Regions from separate parts of the Homo sapiens genome. Here region 2 is linked to region 1. Evidence: promoter capture Hi-C in 16 types of primary human blood cells and fetal thymus (Javierre and others, 2016). All regions are on one chromosome and are shown on one strand. Each heading gives the region's core, a stretch centred on a gene start or on the middle of the fragment in contact. The rest is flanking DNA. Distances are from core to core; before and after follow the strand shown.

Evidence for each region. The method cuts DNA at HindIII sites, captures the fragments that hold promoters and counts their contacts. A CHiCAGO score of 5 or more calls a contact.
Region 2: a contact is called between a fragment that was not itself captured here and the fragment with the promoter of ZNF326 in region 1, in 3 of 17 cell types (naive CD8 T cells, naive CD4 T cells and total CD4 T cells). The highest score is 6.2, in naive CD8 T cells.

Annotation. Positions count from the first base shown.
Region 1 is chr1:89,993,029-89,996,770 of GRCh38, reverse strand. It overlaps ZNF326 (zinc finger protein 326), which reads right to left and starts at 1,661. Exons shown (of 12, transcript NM_182976.4): 1 at 1,498-1,661. The coding sequence starts at 1,513. It also overlaps the pseudogene GEMIN8P4. RefSeq lists enhancers at 946-995, 877-1,442, 1,443-2,009 and a silencer at 1,216-1,855. The HindIII fragment of the contact is 7,808 bases long and covers 361-3,742 here.
Region 2 is chr1:89,461,581-89,465,322 of GRCh38, reverse strand. No RefSeq gene overlaps it. Among named protein-coding and RNA genes, the nearest start is that of LRRC8B, 61 kb to the left of the region's middle. The HindIII fragment of the contact is 6,077 bases long and covers 1-3,742 here.

The DNA of each region.
Region 1 (3,742 bases), core at 412-2,911:
TTTTGTTGTTGGTTTTTTGTTTTTTTTTTTTCAGACGAAGTTTGGCTCTTGTTGCCCAGGCTAGAGTGCAATGGCACGATCTCGGCTCACTGCAACCTTCGCCTCCCGGGTTCAAGGGATTCTTCTGCCTCCGCCTCCCAAAGTGCTGAGATTACAGGTGTGAGCCATCGTGCCCAGCCCAAATATTCATAGTTTAAAGGTATCTACATCAAAATGAGTTAAAGTCCAACCAAAACAAACAAAACCACGAGAGTGTGCTACTCTTAAGAGCTGAACTTACTATTTCAAAGTAACTGAAAAGTATCTACAAGAGGGCTATTCCAGTCCCCTTTCACAAATCTGTACCTAGATATGAAAGCTTTAATTCTTTGTTGCATGAAATGTTATGAAAAATCAAAAGCTCATCGAGTAAGACATATGCTGAGATCACACCTCATTTAAAGATCATTTTTTTGGTGGGGTTAAAAGTTTACAGCCTACTTAGTGAACTGGTTTTACTTAAGCATGCCTGGTTACTCAGGATTAAATCCAGTTTAATCACATAAGTCCTTTCCCATGTCTCCCTAATGTTGTCACTACATACCACTTTATCTTGACACCAATTCCAAGCAAGGTTTGAAAACAAAAGTGAAGACCAAATTAATATTACTTTGTGACCCTGTAAAAGTGGTTTAAAGAATTAGTATCTGAGACAACTGAAAAGTATTGCTAAAATACAGTTTATTTAATCCGTAAGTCAAACACTTACAAGGCTGTGTACAGGTCTAAATGTGAAGGACATTTGATGCTTGCTGTGCCAAAATTCTGATTAACTTAAATCCTACCTACACACGATCCAAAGAAAAGTGCTTTGGTTCACATAAATATTTCAAGTTAGGGATTAATAAGCAGGTAATTTTTGGTGATAAACACCCCAGTTTACTAACCAGGAAACATCTTGCTTTCCATTTTGCATAGATATTTATCTATACATATCACTTACAGACACCCTTTCAACTCATCTTAAACCGGGACAAACAGAAACATCACTGTGAACAAGCCTCTGAAAATTCTATCTGGCAAGAAGTAACCCGAGGCTGAGGATTAACTAAACGGACGGTCTGGGTCGCTGCCCTGTGGGGCGAATGCGAGACTAGGTGGGTGAGGCCGCACTCGCCCGTTTGCCCGAGACCGGGAAGTTGGAGACGTCGGGGCAATTTCCACTACCAGGGGCCAAGGCGAGTCTGGGGCTCCAGCCCGGAGGCTCTCGCGCTCTAGGCGCGTCCTACCGGACACCGAGTTCTCTTGTCTCCGCCGGCAGCGGGCGCCGAGCGGGCCGAATCGGGGCGCGTGGGTCCCCAAAGAGGCCGACTCCGGGCGCTGGGCCCGGGGCGGGCGGGCGGCCTCCGGGCCCGCAGAACAAAGCCCACACGGCCATCTTGAGACGGTAAACAGACCCCCTGCGTAGGCCACCCCGCCTCCTGCCAGCTGCGCCGACCAGCCAGAGGCAGCGCTTACCGTCCTCGAAGTCCATGGCAGAGGCTGAGGGCCGTCGGCCTTGGCGGCGCTAGGCTGAGCTATGGCCGGCGGCGAGCGTCCGCGACCCGCGATTCCACACGATCACTCCGCGCGACCGAGAGCGGCGCGCTACCAGCCCGGGAGCCGCAGGCCACAGCGAGGCTGGGGAGGCGGGGCCGACCGGCGCTACCAGCCCCATCGGCGCGGCCTGCTATTGGCTGACGCGGGCTGGTGGGCGGGCCCTCGCGTGGGGGGCGGGAAGCAGGTCCGCTGTCACGCTCGGAGGTGCTGACCCTCTGGAGCCGCTGACGGGGAAGGAAGGTAAAAAAGGAGCGCTAAAGATTGGCGGGGGTTGTGGGAAAGCAAGCCGAGTGTACGGGAAGGGCCGGCTGCGGCCCGCCATGTTTGAACCTGGCAAGAGCGAAAGAAGCCGGTTGGAATGCCTTCTTCCTGCCCAAACTAATAAAACCGCATGCCTACCTTTTGCTTAGTATTGGCTAGGGATGACTAATCATAACATTTGTAAGTACTTACGGGGTTTCCTCCATGGAGACACAGAAGTCTGGGACGTTTCTAGAAGCCTGTGGCAAATTTGAAAAGCAAGATACAAAATAGCGTATGGAGTCTGATTATCGCTATGTCAATAAATTTTCTTAAAGGACAAAGCACTGAAATAAAATGGAAATAATAATTCTTTTAAAAAATTTTTAAATTATTTTTATAGAGATGGGGGTTTTGCCATGTTGCCCAAGCAGGTCTCCAACTCCTGGACTCAAGCGATCCCCCCACCCCCAGCCCCGTCTCCGCCTCCCAAAGTGTTAGGATCACAGGCGTGAGCCAATGCGACCCGCCTGGAAAGAATTCTAAAACATGGCCTGCTTGGCCACCGCCCAGGATCTGCAAGCTGCGCGCCCACAAGTTTCGGCACCCATTTGGACTTTCACAATCGGAGATGGCAGTGGTGAAGGCATCAACATCAAAAGCTACCAGGCCTTGGTATTCTCATCCAGTATATGCAAGATACTGGCAACATTATCATCAAGCAATGGCTTGGATGCAAAGCCACCACAATGCCTACAGGAAGGCGGTGGAATCCTGTTTCAGTCTTCCATGGTTCTTCCTTCCTGCGCTTCTTCCCCAAAGCTCTTACGATAACCAGGCTGCGTATCCTCAGTCCTTCTATGACCATCATGTGGCCTAGCAGGACTCCCCCTGCAGTTCTTCACATTTCAGAGGGTCTGGGCAACATCCACATGGCAGCAGTAGGATCCAGGCATCCACAAGAGAAGACCAAGCCTTATCCAAGGAGGAAGAGATGGAGACCGAGTCAGATGCAGAGGTAGCATGTGACCTGAGCAATATGGAAATCACCGAAGAGCTCCGCCAGTACTTTGCAGAGACAGAGAGGCACAGAGAAGAACTACTGCGGCGGCAACAGCTGGATGCGGAGCGCCTGAACAGCTACGTGAACGCTGAACACGACCTGTACTGCAACACCCGCCGGTCGGTAGAGGCCCCAGCTGAGAGGCCTGGTGAGCGGCGCCAGGCCGAAATGAAGCGTTTGTACTGGGACAGCGCCGCCAAGATCCAGGCCATGGAGGCTAACGTGCAGCTGAGCTTTGACAAGCACTGTGATCCAAAGCAGCCTAATTACTGGCCGGTCATCCCCCCGAAGTTCTGAGCTCGGGGCACAGGGCACCCAGCCTCTTCCTCTTCCTTTTGGATACGCGCTCTTCATCTCTCCTTCTGTACATTTCTCAGGGAAAGGGGACTTTGTACTGAGGTACAGGCACGTTCACCACAGTCCCAGTGGGCCTGTCACGGGGTGGATGTACTGTGCCAGCCACTTGGAGGTCGGCAGGACATATTCTGTTGCCAACATGATAAATTTTATCCTGACATAAAATGATAATTTTGTATATATTATACTGGTTTTTTATGTTGTCAGTAACAGTTCAATTCATTAAAGTTCTTGCCTAGAAAAAAAAAAAAGAATTCTAAAACATGAACGATGATTCTTTTTGTGATGACTTTTTATATACACATGATTATGTGTTCTTCTATATCTCCAAATTCTTGAGCACTTTCATAATGTAAAATATATATTTGGCCTAAAACAAGATTTATTATTTATTAATGATTAGTGTTTGTTAAAAGTTCTCTTTAGCCAAATATTATGTTTCATTTTCTTTGAAGATATACTTAGTGATGCGGAGGTGGGGGGCTCTCTTGGCCATTTAAGTCA
Region 2 (3,742 bases), core at 593-3,092, 530 kb after region 1:
AGTGTCTGTATTGGGACAGCACCATCTCCTTAGGAGAGCACTGCCTGCATTAGTCTAGCACAGGAGATCTGTAATGGACTATGCGGGCCATTCCATGGATAAGTAATCTGACCTAGAGAGGTGAACTGACTTTTTCAGGTCATAGAGCTAATGGCAGAGTTGAGAGTTGAACTGCATTCTGATTTCAAATTCAGTAATTTTTTTTAACATTATTAACATTTTCAAAATTCAATAATACATTTTAAAAATTGTCCTTGCCCTGTAAAAGTGATTTGTATTAAGAACACATTCGTATATGTAGATAGCATTGCTAGTGCAGGTGAATCAAACCTGAATTGTTCTACATCACAAATAGCCAGTATAGAAGTTTAAGTGCAGAAAGATTTCTTTGTATATCTTGGGGTATTCTCTGTAACAGAACCACAGTGCTCCCTTGGAAACAAGGTGTCCACTTTTAATGTCTACATTTTACTTGATTTTAAATTCTCTATAGCTATTACTTCAGAGACTTATACTTGTTGACAGCTATGTGTAGTGGAAAGAGCCTAGCACTGAGGCGGTCAAGAGATCTGGATTCTAGTTCTGGATTTGGCATTACTTAGCTATTGTTCGCTGTTGGAAATGTAACTACTACTCCTATGACAGCTTGAAATATCTTGAAGTGAATCTGAATGATTTCTAAGTGTATTAGTTTCCTGTTGCCACTGTAACAAATTACCACAAATTTAGTGGTTTAAAGAACACAATATAAACTCTTACAATTCTGGAGGGTGGTCAGAAGTCCAAAATGGGTCTCATGGGGCTAAAATCAAGGCATTGGATTCTTCTGGAGTCTCTAGGGAAAAATCAGTTTCCTCGCCGTTTTCAGCCCTTAGAGGCCCCTGCACTCCTTGGTCATGGCCCCTTCCTGGGATCACTTCCACCTTTTGCTTCCATCATCATCATGTCTCCTACTCCTCTCTGACTTCTCCAATGTCTTTCGTGTAAATACCCTTTTGACTTTATTGTGCTTCCTTGAGTAATGTAGGAGAAGCCCCTCATCTCAAGATCCTTGACTGGATCACACCTGCAAAGTTTCTTTTACCATACAAGGAAACATTCAGAGGTTTTTGAGGTCAGGATGTGGGCACATCTAAGGGGCATCATTCAGCCTACCAAAGAAACCACAGTGGTCAATGATGGATGATTGGGGAATGCGGTCAGAAAGAATGAACTTATTTTTGGTACCTTCACTTATTTCTTGAATATATGAACAGATAGCAGATAATATAGTGTATGAGATTCAGAGTCATGTAGACCTGCATTAAAACCCCAGCTATACCACTTACTAGCTGTTTGACCTTAGGCAAAAAATATAATTTCTCTGAGTTTCTGCTTCTTCATCTGTAAAATGGGAATAATAATATGAGTTCTATATGTCTGTGCGTGTTTTTGTGTGAGGATTAAAATAACATATGTGAAGCGATTAGTACAATAACTAGTACAGATCAAGGTCTCAGTAAATGAGGCTATCACAACTGAAGCTGAGCCTTGCTTCTAACTCAGTGTACTTCTCAATATTTATCTGTGCAAGGGACCAGTTTTGTTTACTGTTACCTTAATTTTAATATTTTTATCTTTCCCCTCCAGTTATCATTCCCATTTCTTCCCCTGCCTTTTCAATAAGTCCTGTTTAACACACTTGCTATGTGTCTTTGAATGTACATATTTTATATAAAATCATATAGCATTATTTTATACGTGTGTGTTTCTAATTAAATGGGATGTAAAATACATTTAATGTTTCTTATTTTTTTCCACTCACTTTTGTGTTGTTCAAGATTTGTCCATCCAGCATGTTAGTTTTCCTCTCTGGCTATGGTCATCTAGGGTGCTTCAGTATCCCCTGCCATAGATGCCTATGCATTTACATGTCCCTGTAGAGAAGTTGGAAAGAGTTGCTCTGGGATATACATTCAGCAGTTGGAAGAAGGCTTATGGTACAAGTATTGCCAGATTGCTCTCTAGAAAGACTATACCATTTCTTCTTCTACCAGAAGAACAAATGTTCTTGTTTAGCATTGGTTTGCTGACATTTAGTGTTTTCTGACTCTGATTTTTTTTTTTTTTACAGGTGATAGTTACAAAGTGGTATCAGATTTATTTTTTAATTTTTTAACACTAGTAGGGTTGAGCACTATATATTTACTAGTTTTCAGGTTTTTCCATCCTATGGATACAAATAGTATGCATAATTTATATGGATATAAATTATTTGCTCATTATTGGCTTAACTAGCTTTTTGTTTTAGTTGCTTGTTAATTTGTTGGTATGTCTTGAATGTTCTAGATATTACTTCTTTATTGGGTTAATACATTTAAAATTTCTTGTTGAAACCTCTCAGGCTTTTGCTAACTTTATCACATATATATGTGTATATATATATTATAATGTTATATATTCTACATATACCCAGATGTAGATATTACATCAATTTTAGGTGCTGTAACTAGCTTTGCCAAGTCATCTGTATTTTATGGATTTGAGGGTTCCCTTAATGAAAAGAAATTCAACGATTTTCCCTCTATGATGTGTAATTGTTTTGGAGTCTTCTTAAAAAGATCTTTCCCACCCAAGATAAAAAAGATTCTTTCCTATATGGTCTCATTTGGCCTTTCTGAAAAGTAACCAGTTGCAGAAGATGCTCAATTATGTGAAATTAGTAAATATAGAAGAAGCATCAGTTGATTACTGTAGCAGTTCAACACTAAGGAATATGATGGTTGGTTTGGTTAAATTTTACTTAAAGTGATTCAACTTAAACTTGGGGGGAAAAAATCTTAGGTCAACAATTAGTCGGTACTTAGTCTCTGCCAGGTGTGGACTGAACTATCCAAAGCATGCTGGAGTTGGAAAGAGCCAATGGGAGAAATGAGGCAAGGGTCACGCTGAGTTCAGCCCAGAATTTGGGGCATGCTCTACAAAACCGTGCTGCCTAGGGCTGGCCACAGAGTCACTGGGGGCAAAAGGACTAACAAAACTGTAAAAGTGTGTGTTGGGGTAACAGCCATTTTGAAAATGTTTTAATGGTGATAAGAATGCATGTGTCAACCATGGATTAAGAGAATGATAACACTTTGCAGCAGATTTTAGACACACACTGCTTGCTTATGGCGAAATTCCTAGAAAGTTACCTGTGGAGCTTAATAACTTCTAGTCACTTCCTAGTTACCTGGAACCTTTTTAAAGGAAGAGATCATGTATTACTTGTTTGACTTCCTAACATGCAGCACAACACCCAGCACAGAGTAAATGCTTAGCTAACATTTGCTAATGGGATAACAGCAGCAGATTAGTGCAGGGAGCACCTTCATCATCTGTCTATGCTGTAAGGCAACGCAGTCTGAAAGACTGTGTTGAAATAAGTTCACTGGAAAAAACCCAAAGCCTTCCAATGAATACTCAGTCACTTTCATGGTTAAAACCGTAGAAAAGTGCAAAGCACCTAAAGCCATAGATGAGTTTATGAGCCTAGGTAGCTGTCACCTAGCACTGGCTTCAAAGGAATGACGTTATGTAAGACAGAGTACAAATTGGGGATGGGAGTGTGGGTGTAAGGGCAAAGGTAAAGGAAGGAGGTACCTTAAAGGAAAAAGAAATTAGAGTACCTTGAAGGACAAAATAGATGGTTCTGTATCAGTGGATATTCAGACATCTGGGCCTCTTGGACTCTAAGAGCGTTTCCTTTACATTTATCGCATAT